2 separate regions of the Homo sapiens genome follow, and region 1 is linked to region 2. The links are contacts of gene promoters, found by promoter capture Hi-C in blood cells and fetal thymus (Javierre and others, 2016). All regions are on one chromosome and are shown on one strand. Each heading gives the region's core, a stretch centred on a gene start or on the middle of the fragment in contact. The rest is flanking DNA. Distances are from core to core; before and after follow the strand shown. Region 1 overlaps LOC101927692 (a long non-coding RNA gene). Region 2 holds the start of TDRD1 (tudor domain containing 1).

Region 1 (5,630 bases), core at 411-2,910, 590 kb after region 2:
AAGGAAGGGAAGGAGAAAAGAAAGGAAGGAAGGAAGAAAGAAAGAGAAGGGAAGAAAGAAAGAAAGAAAAGAAAGAGATGTTCTAGTTGTTTTCTATGTTGGCACTGCCCAAATCCATCCTGATGTGATGGGAATTGTATGGAATTGTATAATAGTTCTGACAATTCAGAAATATTAAAAAATAGGTGAACGTAATTCTTTCAGAAAAAATAATTGATGGATAATTGAGCATTGTTGAAAAAAACCCAACCAAATGATCATGTGGGAAAGGAAATACTAGAAAAAAGATTTGTAATGGGAATAGAAATTCTCAGATTCAAATGCCAACTACAAAAATCAACTCATTATTTATCCATCTTGACAACATCCCTTTCACTGTCTTTTAGGCAGAAAACTTGCCAGTGAATCACAATTCAGTTGCTTCAATCTCAAAACAACTCTCCTCTCCCACTATCCTCATTCCACTCTTAACCTTTCTCACCTAAAGCATGATCACAGGAATAGCCTGGTTGCCCTGCCTACATTCAGCCTCCAGCCTCCACTGCCTCCCTACCACCCACCCCCCAGGTTTATTTTGCCCATTACCTTGAGAATAATTTTTCTATTTATAACATGACTAGTTCATGTTCTACTATGAGGTTATTAGTGGGTCCTCACTGATCTCCAGATACAGACTGAACATTTCAAACTGTCTTCATCCAAGCAATTAATTCATCCAGCAAAATTTTATTGAACACATATTATGTACCAGTCTCTAGGGTAGATACTAGGGTTACAATGGTGAACAAGATAGACATGATCTATGCCCACACAAAGCTTAGAGTCCACTGAAATTTTAAGGTCCTTCATAATCTGTGCTTTCCTACCTTGCCAGTGCCATCTCTAGCTACTCCCTACTCAAACATTTTACTGTAGACAGACTATTTTTCCCTCTGTTTCTCAACAAGATAATATGTTTCCTGTCTCCCTGCCTTTACTCATTCTCATTTTTCTTCCCCAGTGTCCTCCTCCCCACCCAAGTTAACTCATATAACATCTTATGAAAGGTTCTCCTTCTACCTTAACCCACAGTGATCTCGTTCAATCAACTTCTGTGGCATTTACTTTCAGAATCACCTGTTTTTACTTAACACACTGCTTTCTGCTGCTGTTTAATGGTTTTGTTGTAAGTCTTTTCTATCTCCCCAAATCTCCTTGAAATCAGGGACTTGGCCAGTCTTGTCGAATTGAATTTGTTCTGGAAGTATACAGAACATATGTTATATCAGATATCATACTAGTAAGATAGAGAGGTCCCAGAACTGTGTGCCTTCTTTTTAATATTTATTTATTTATTTGAGACAGAGTCTCGCTCTATCACCCAGGTTGGAGTGCAGTGACACCTCTTGGCTTACTGCAACCTCCACCTCCCGTGCTCAAGTGATTCTCATGCCTCAGCCTCCTGAGTAGCTGGGATCACAGGCACGTGCCACCACACCTGGCTAATTTTTGTATTTTTAGTAGAGACGGGGTTTTACCATGTTGGCCAGGCTGGTCTCGAACTCCAGGCCTCAGGCAAACTGCCCGCCTCGGCTTCCCACAGTGCTGGGATTACAGGCATGAGCCACCGCACCCGGCCTATTCTTTTAAGTAATATCTAGTCTTTTTCTCTAACTGCCACAATAGTTCTGGTTCTTATAACCTCATAGCAGAATTACAGATACAGTGGCAAATTCCTAATAATGAACAGATCTTACTCTTGTCCTTAAGATGCTTGTAATAGACTACACAGATGATTATAAAATTCACTCCTAGATGTAAGTCTCAAATAAGGCACCTTTCCCAATACTGTTAGGCACATAGCAAGTACTCCGTGCCTGCCTGACTGGCAGGTTGCAAAATGGTAAGTTTGCTATCAAAGGTCATCTTTAGCTAAAAAGAGGTTTCCCTATGTATTTAGCTTTAGTCTTCTTCAGGTTAAGTATATATTTTAAAATATATGTGATTTTCTTACATTTTGGAGTTGTGATATATGGAAATGACATTTTAGGGCCACTCACATCATCTCAGAATCTCTTTCTATAATCTCAGAAATCTGAAACCAATTCTTCCAATCATACAGCAACCAAGTTTGTTAATGGCTTGAATCTCCTAACAAATGTCTCATCTGAAATAACTGAGAATACTTTAGAAATCATTGTAAAAGCAAATTGTAAAGTGCAAGGAATTTTAGGAGACATAGTAAATGCCACTTTTTAAAGTCAGGAAATAAAGTACAATCTATTGGTTGAAACCAGAGGAAAAATTTATATAGACCAAAGGGATGAAACACATTCCAGTCTGTGTTTGAAAAAAAGAGGTTCCTATTTGACTCTTGCCAAAAATGCTCTTTTAATTTCTAATGGAAGGAAAGGTAATGTACATTATTAACATTTTTTCTTTATTGATTTTTTAAATAATTGAATATTGAGTCTTACTCCCACAGCTTTTCAGCTGCCAACTCATCATCACTTCTCATTCTGAACCTAAGCTTCTCATGAGTAGCATGAGAATAATTCTTCTTTCTGCATAACTTCAAGCTTAAAGGCACACTGAACTACTCAATGGTTTTTAATCAAATACCTTTATAATACCTACTATGTAATAGGCAATGAGGAAGTCCTGGCAAACAAGTTAGAAAAGCAGTATACAAGGTGGAGAAGCTAAGCCTGAGAGTCTTCATTAAGCCAGGCCACTAAAGGGGGATAAAATGACCTCAGATTAGTCATATCCCTGGCTCCCGAGAGAAGCAAACTAAAATTCTTTTTAAATACTTCTTTTTTAGTAAAAGCATCCAACAGTGGCTCATGCCTGTAATCCCAGCACTATGGGAGGCCAAGGTGGAAGAATCATGTGAGCCCAGGAGTTTGAGACCAGCCTGGACAACATGGCAAAACCCTAACTCTACCAAAAAAAAAAAATTTAAATTAGCCAGGTGTGGTGGCTTGTGCCTGTAGTCCCAGCTATTTGGGAGTCTGAGGTGGGAGGATCACTGGAGCCCAGGAGATTGAGGCTGCGGTGAGCTATGATTGCATCACTGCACTCCAGCCTGGGTGACAGAGTGAGACCCTGTCTCAAAAAAACACAAAAACCTTCATCAGTGTAGACCCCAAGGATTCCACAAATAAAGATCAAGCAAACATGAGGTCATAATAAAAGATGCCAAAATACACAGGAAAAGAAGCCATGCTGAGTGAGAGTCAGCAGAAACAACAAATAGATACTAAGTAGTTTGGGTATTATAATTCCCAGATAATACATATAAAACAAGAGATAAAATATATATAAAGTAACAAAAAAATAACAAAAGATACACATCACAAAACTAAGCCAACACCAGACTATCAAAAATGACCAAGTAAATTTCAAAAAGAACCAAATAGAAATAACAACTATCAACTATAGAAATTTTAAAACTCATTGGATAGATAAAACAGACAAACAGAACCAAAGATTTAGTGAATTGGAAAGTAGATATTAAAAAGCCACTAGAAATACAGCTCCAAAATATTGGGAGATGAATAATGCAAAATAGAGGTTAAGATATATTGACAATAGGATAAGAAGATCTAATTTATAAATAATAGGAGTCCTAAGAAACAATTTTAAAATGGAGAAAAGACTACATTTGAAGGAAAAACAACTAAGAATATTATAAAATACATATATCAATAAAGGAAATACAATATATACCAGGTTGGATGAATAAAAAGAAATCTAGACCTAGACACACTGATATTGAAACTGAACAACACTAAAAACAAAGATAAGATCTAAAAAGCAGTCAAAGAGAAAGGACATAGCCTAGGAACAAAACAGATTGATAACAGACTCAAGGGAAAGGATAAAAGCCATGAGACAACAGAATTCTGATTAGCCTATAATTGTTCATTTAAAATTTCACGAATAGGCCAGGCGCGGTGGCTCATGTCTGTAATCTCAGCACTTTGGGAGGCCAAGGTGGGTGGATCACTTGAGGTCAGGAGTTCAAAACCAGCCCAGCCAACACGGTGAAACCCTGTCTCTACTAAAAATTTAAAAATTAGCTGGACATGGTGGTGCATGCCTGTAATCCCAGCTACTCAGGAGGCTGAGGCAGGAGAATAGCTTGAACTCAGAAGGCGGAGGATGCAGTGAGCTGAGATTGCGCCACTGCACTCCAGCCTGGGCTACAGAGAGAGACTCCGTCTCAAAAACAAACAAACAAAACAAAAAAATTGCATGAACAGCAAAAATATCTTTCAAAAATGAGGGCAAGATAGATATTTTAAGACAGATATTGAGTGTACCACTAATAAAATTTCTGTATCATTTATATATAAATATATATGTAAATATATAAATATATTTATGTAGAGTAAAATGACCACCATTAAAAAGTATGAGATAGAAGCAAGAATGAGGAAAAAAGAAATTTGTTTACATAGAAATAAATCCAACTAAATATCAATACATTTGAAATGAAGAACTAGGATAAAATGTGGTTCTTTGAAAAGAATTAACAAAATGAATGACCTTTAGTGAAACTAAGAAAAAAAAGAAAGAATAAATAAAGAGTATTAGAAAGACACCCTTAACTACAGTTAGAAGAGAGATTTAAATGAGATTATAAACTGGAATTCTGCTTTTGGCCATGATGAAGTAATAATTAGACTTGTCTTCCCAAATCAAACAACAAAACTGAAAAAAATACATGAAACAACTATTTTTAGTTATTGGACAACAGGCAGCCCAGGACAGTGGTTCTTGAGAAAACAGAAGCAAATAAAGTGAGTCCTATGAATGCCATGGCTTCTGACTAGAGGAAACTCCCAGGCTACAGGTGGAGGGAGGAGAAACCCAGACAGAGCTCAGTGGTCTCACTGAGTTTAGGAGAAAACAAGCATGGTCCCGAGAGGCCATGGTGGATGGAAGTTGTGGGATAAGTGCCCAGAGGAAACTATGTGGAGAAAGAGCTACAGGAATCTACAGAAGAGTGTTCTTGAGACCTTACTGATTCCTAAGCTGCACATATACCGGGTGAAGTTCCACGAGGATAGGTAAAATGAACAAATATTTGAAAGCTGCCCATTGGTAGGGCTCCTACAACTGAGAAAAAAGTTGGACTGAAAAACAAGAGACAGAGTTAAACAGAGTAATAAGTAATCTAGTCCAAAGCCAGGGCAGAATGTGAAACTTGGAAGGACCTCTAACCTAGACATGAGGGCTAGGGGCAGCATTTGGTAGAGCAGAGCAGAGATGTTAAATATTTTAGATGTAGGCTCTGTCATAAAGGAAATCAGTACAAGGGAACCAAGGCGGAGATAAGAATGAATTCTAGTCCCTAGCAGAAGCCAGGGGAAAAAAAGTACTAGATGTCCAAAGATGCCCATGCCAGGAACTAGTTTCCTGAAACAAAACAAAAAACACAGGTGTATTGTCCGTTCTCACACTGCTATAACGATACTACCTGAGTCTGGGTAGTTTATAAAGGAAACAGGTTTAATTGACTCACATTTTGGATGACTGGGGAGGCCTCAGGAGACTTACAATCATGGAGGAAGGTGAAGAGGAAGCAAAGACCCTCTTCACATGGTGGCAGGAGAGGGAAAAATGCAAGCAGGGGAAATGCC
Region 2 (5,559 bases), core at 76-2,575:
AGACGGGGTTTCACCATGTTGGCCAGGCTGGTCTCGAACTCCAGACCTCAAGTGATCTGCCTGCCTCGGCCTCCCAAAGTGCTGGGATTACAGGCATGAGCCCCCACGCCCAGTCAGCACTTTCATTTCACTATTCTGTAAATCTGAAACTGCTCTAAAAAATAAATTTAAAAGACACATCAACTAAAGAAAAAAAATCAGGCTTTTAAAGAATTGAAGTTAGTGAAGTTAGTTTTATTCAGAGTCTTACTGAGGACTGCAACCAGGGAGAGCCCAGAGAATTTCTGTTAAACTACTCCAAAGCAGTGGGTCAGCACACTTTAAATATTAGGTGGTAGAGGTTCTGCCCAGGGGTTACATTAAAAGTGCCCAGAAGCTATATAAGATCAAAATATTTTCAAAGTTTGGGTGCGAGAGTAAGTCTAGGCATCATCATTAATCTTGTCCGTTAGGTACAGAAAAAGGCAAGGCCTAGATCTCTGAAAGTATCTTTTCTAAAAATGCAGTGACTCTGAGAGGTGGGAACCTGAGTTCTCTCCGCAGTCTTCAAGGCATTCTTCTGGAGGGCTGAGATGTTACTAAGTCAAGGGGTCTGAAATGCTGACAAACACAGTGAACAAACGTGGCTTTTTCACAGTGAGGGAGGACTATGCTGGGGGCCAGAAGCAGACGTTCGCTACTTTGTCTCACATTTACAATTCTCGGATTTGCTTCAAAACATTGCCCGAAGAGTGCCTGGGCTGCAGATGTAGACAAGATTAACCATGAATTGATAAGGTAGAAACTAGATGATAGGCACACAAGGGTTCCCTTATGAAATTGTTAGAAAAGTTCCATAGCAAAAAAAAAAAAAAACAAAACTTAAAAAGCTTGTCTTTAAGTAACACCAACAGGTATAATCACATGCCCTCAGTCAGGAAGCAAAGAAAAAAAGTATGAGCACGTGTGTGTTTACTTTCCAAGACCAGGCAGAGGCTGTTGATTATTTGGAAAACCTTGGAAGACCTTTAAGTGGCCACGGTGACCCAAGTGACCTTCGAGGAGACAAAGTCTGCATCTTTGCGCCCAAATTTGCCAAAGGCGTTGCCAGAGACATCTTTCTAGAAGAAGCTAGAACAAAATAAAAGTTTCTGCAAAGGAACTTTTTGAGCCTGTAACTAGAGCACAAGCTGCTTCCGGGGAAGGCGGAGGGAACACGTGGGCACATTGAGTTGCACGTGGACGCGGAGTGCGCAGGCGTGCGCTGAGGCCAGGAGGGCGCACTGGGGATTGGAGGCGAGGGAAGTGCAGGGCGCATCCCAGGCGGCAGGGCTCCCAGCATCGGCAGTCGCCATCACCGCCAGACCGCAGAGACAGGTTCGGATCCGCGGTCCTCTTGCCTCTTTCCAGGTCAGGGTTCCCAGGCGTATAGGGGAGGGAGAGGGCCTGCATGAAGGGGAAGGGAGGGGGCTTCGGTCGTTGGGGGCCAGACGTTGGGCGCTGGACGTTGAGGTTGGGCGTTGAGCGGGTACAAGGGGCCTGGAAGTGGAGAGAGGAGACTTGGAACCTTGCTGCGAGGGTTTGGTGTGGGAGGATTCTCTGAGTTTGGAAATAGCGCTTCCAGGCATCACTCCTTCAAATGCAAACGTTCACCTTCTCTCTAAGAGAAACTTGCATGTGGATTCAGTGCCTTCGTTTGACTAAAAATTACGATACAAACAATATTAACATTTACTAGACTTTTTTTTCCCTACTTTCCTCCTATAGGAAAGGAAGATGTGCTAGGGCATTTACTTAGATGTGGGTCAGCTGGCGCTAGTTTGTTTAAGGAGTTCCTGCTGTGTGCCAGTAGCTTTTCCGGGCCCTAGGGTCCTTGCTATAAATACGTTAGCCCTGCTGGGCTTCTGAACTAAGGGAGCTAAATGCTTCCAGCTTCCTTAGTGAGGCAGCACGGTGCTGTATGCTTAAATCCAAGGCCGTGGAGTCTGACCTGCGTTTTTATCTAAACTGTGTAAGGTGCTGGCCCTGGGTGGTTTGGTAAGTTATTCCAACTTCCCACGTCTCCCTTGTTTATCTGTAGGAATAACGAAATAAAAATACTTTAGTCCTCAAATTATTTTCATCTTAAGCCTGCAAGCTGGTTCCACAGGAATGGAAGAAATTTTGTGCTTGTAGGAGTGGTATAAAAGTAAAGCAGAAATAATAGCTGCCCTTTAAGCCCTTAGGAAGTACTAGCCACTGTGCTAAGTGATTTACTTCGTCTCTCATTTAATTCTCGTGATTAGGATTTGTGAGGAAGTTAACTACTGCCCTCTGCATTTTACAGTCGCTGAATCCTAGAAAGATGAAGTGATTTGCCCAAGATAGCGTGGCTAAATGAGGAAGACGAGACTTACCTGGCTGACTTAAGAGCTCATGCTTTACCGAAGCGTTGCGTTTTGTCTGTTTAAAACCGGAGTGTTTTTGTTTGTTCTTTGAGTAAGAGTTTCACTCTTGTTGCCCAGGCTGGAGTGCAATGGCGCGATCCCAGCTCACTGCAACCTCCGCCTCCCGGGTTCAAGCGATTCTCCAGCCTCAGCCTTCCTAGTAGCTGGGATTACAGGCCAGCCACCGGCGCCCTGCTAATTTTTGTATTTTTAGTAGAGACAGGGTTTCACCATGTTGGCCAGGCTGGTCTCCAACTCCTCACCTCAGGTGATCCGCCCACCTCGGCCTCCAAAGTGCTGGGATTACAGGCGTGAGCCACAGCGCCCAGCCAAAACCGGAGTGTTTTCTTTGAGTAGAATGGTTCTTGCAGAATACATGGGGTTGCCAGGAAGACAAAAGCAAACATCAGAGAAGGAAAAAAATGACAGCTGAGTATCTGTGCATACACTTTTGTTGTTAAAAGAACTCCAGCCTGTGGTATCCTAGAGGGAGAAGAAATGACTTACCCCACTATTCATAGTGTATCTTAGGAAGCCCCCAGCAACATCAGGGAGAACCGATAGGATTCCAAAGAAAAGAGAGGGTCTACCCTTAGGGAGCTTCAGGACTTAATGGGTTCAAAGCGTGAAGTACAGAACAAAGAAATCCAGAAAGCTGAGCCCTCATTTTTGCCTGTAGAACTATAGAAATGAGTCACTTTCAGTCCACTACTCTTCTAGTACATCAGTGATTCCTAATTCTGAGAAAATGAGGTACTCTTTAACGTAGAGAAATGTTGAGACCCTTCTAGTTAACCTTTTATGTTAGCTGAATCAACATTTAATTACTGTGGATTCCAGAATGATTAAATATATTTCTATTTATCACTAGTAGCATGAAAAAATAGTAGATTGTATATAGGGGGAATTATTTTAAAACTGGGTGAGGTTAGCCGATGTGGCTTCAGGGCCTGTGCAGCAATAATCTGTCACATTTGTTTACCTGGGTATCAAGTCTAAAGCCTGAGGTTGGGAATCACAGTATTATGCCATAGGGCCTGCCTACTTGTGATTCAGATATTCCCAGTGGTTGATACAGGATGAACCAAGTAGGAATAGATGCTAAGTCTTACTGGTGTTTTGTAATGTTAAAAATTCACGGCCCAGTGCGGTGGCTCACACCTGTAATTCCAGCGCTTCGGGAGGCTGAGGCGGGCGGATCACCTGAGGTTAGGAGTTTGAGACCAGTCTGGTGAAACCCCGTCTCTACTAAAAATACAAAAATTAGCCGGGCGTGATGGGGCATGCCTGTAGTCCCAGCTACTTGGGAGGCTGGGGCAGGAGAATTGTTTGAACCCAGGATGCAGAGGTTGCAGTGAGCCGGAGATCATGCCGCTGCACTCCATTCTGGGCGATGGAGCGAGACAACATCTCAAAAAAAAAAAAAAAAATTCACCCTTAAAAGCCTATTCTGTATCCCAGTTGTGGTGGCTGCCTAAATCTATGCCTGCGTTACATTCATAGAACTGTAAATCAAAGAAATCAAAGTCCATGTAATGGTATGATAATTACATATTTAAAAATAAATTCCAAAAGGTTTTAGGTGACTGAACGTTTTATCTGGATTCACAGTAGTACTGGCCACCTGCTCCAAAAGTTAATGCATAAATGGTAGTGTTCAAACTCAGGGACATCCTGACTTTCCTGTTGACGGGCTGCCAACCCGTGTCTGGAATCTTGTATTCCATTATGAGAGTCATGTCAGTATAAGAGTCTCAGATATTTTTGAAAGGTTGTGGTCACAGGGCAGCAACAGCTGGGAAGGGGAACCATTTTACAAAAAACACTGCAGCACAATTGGCTGTCCCGAATGAAAGGAAACAAGAAGTTTGTGGTCCCAGAACAGGTGTAGATGTCTATTTGCCCTGGGTGTTGTAACGAAAATTCCTGAATAGGGTGAGTCCTTCAAACATTCTCCAAATAGGGTGGACCTTCTTTTAAGTAAAAATCCTCTTTATTTGCTACTTAAACTTTATCGTGAGTCTAACGCGGATGTTGTTTCTAAAGTCAAATATATTTACTAATTTTTGGATTTTGGAGGAATTGTTTTGAGACATGAAGTTTTGTTATTAAATTTCAGTAAACCTCATAGCCTGATGTGCTTCTCCACTTAAGACTGCCAGATGTCATTTCGGACAGCAGGTGTCATTTTCCCTGTCCAGGTTGGCATGAAAGCAGTGCAATAGTGCATTTAAAATAGTTTTTATCATACGAATATCTTTTTTTTTTTTTTTGAGACAGTCTTGCTCTGTAGCCCAGGCTGGAATGCAGTGGCGTGATCTCAGCTCACTGCAAGCTCGCCTCCTGGGTTCATGCCATTCTTCTGCCTCAGCCTCCCGAGTAGCTGGGACTACAGGCACCCGCCACCATGCCCAGCTAATTTTTTGTATTTTTAGTAGAGACGGGGTTTCACTGTGTTAGCCAGGATGGTCTCAATCTCCTGACCTCGTGATCCGCCCGCCTCAGCCTCCCAAAGTGCTGGGATTACAGGTGTGAGCCACCGCTCCCGGCCAATCATACGAATATCTTTTGAATGCCTAGTTCTATAAAGCACCATGGTGGATATTGCAGGAAGTCAAAGGTATTTTTGTTCAGATTTTTAAAAATAAGAGTTCCTGCACTCAGGCAACTTAAAATAATTTAAATGACAGATATAACTGTCTATAGGTAACTGTAATACAGGGTATTGAGGCGCTGACTGTAGATTGACAGCCAGCATGAGTTACTAAGTAAGGACAGTGTTATGAAAGACTCTCGGGTGTAACACACAGCAGCATACTGAGGATCCAACTCAGTGTCTTAAGAAGATGACTATACGCTAGTTTTATGGTTTAAATATTGCTTTGATCCTTTACTTGATTTAGAATTAAGTTACCACATTTTTGGAAAAAAGGTTTACTATTAGATGATACTTCAGTCTTAAAAATGTTTTCATCTATAAAAATGATTCATTCAATATAATTTGGAAAATGAAAAAGACAGTGAAAAAGATATCCTCATCAACCCACCTACCCCAGAATACTCATTGTTATTTATAATGTAATATGTTTCATTCATCTTTTTTTAACCTGGAGTTTTGATTTTCTTTTGCGGTTATAATTATATTGAATATACA

What was found. The method cuts DNA at HindIII sites, captures the fragments that hold promoters and counts their contacts. A CHiCAGO score of 5 or more calls a contact.
Region 1: a fragment that was not itself captured here is called in contact with the fragment with the promoter of TDRD1 in region 2 in 2 of 17 cell types (naive CD8 T cells and total CD8 T cells); the score reaches 7.0 in naive CD8 T cells.

What each region holds. Positions count from the first base shown.
Region 1 is chr10:114,769,513-114,775,142 of GRCh38, forward strand. The region is part of intron 1 of LOC101927692 (a long non-coding RNA gene); the gene reads left to right. It also overlaps a transcript of ABLIM1 not described here. Among named protein-coding and RNA genes, the nearest start is that of FHIP2A, 49 kb to the right of the region's middle. The HindIII fragment of the contact is 1,693 bases long and covers 815-2,507 here.
Region 2 is chr10:114,178,028-114,183,586 of GRCh38, forward strand. TDRD1 (tudor domain containing 1) reads left to right here and starts at 1,326. Exons shown (of 25, transcript NM_001395205.1): 1 at 1,326-1,389. The HindIII fragment of the contact is 8,256 bases long and covers 868-5,559 here.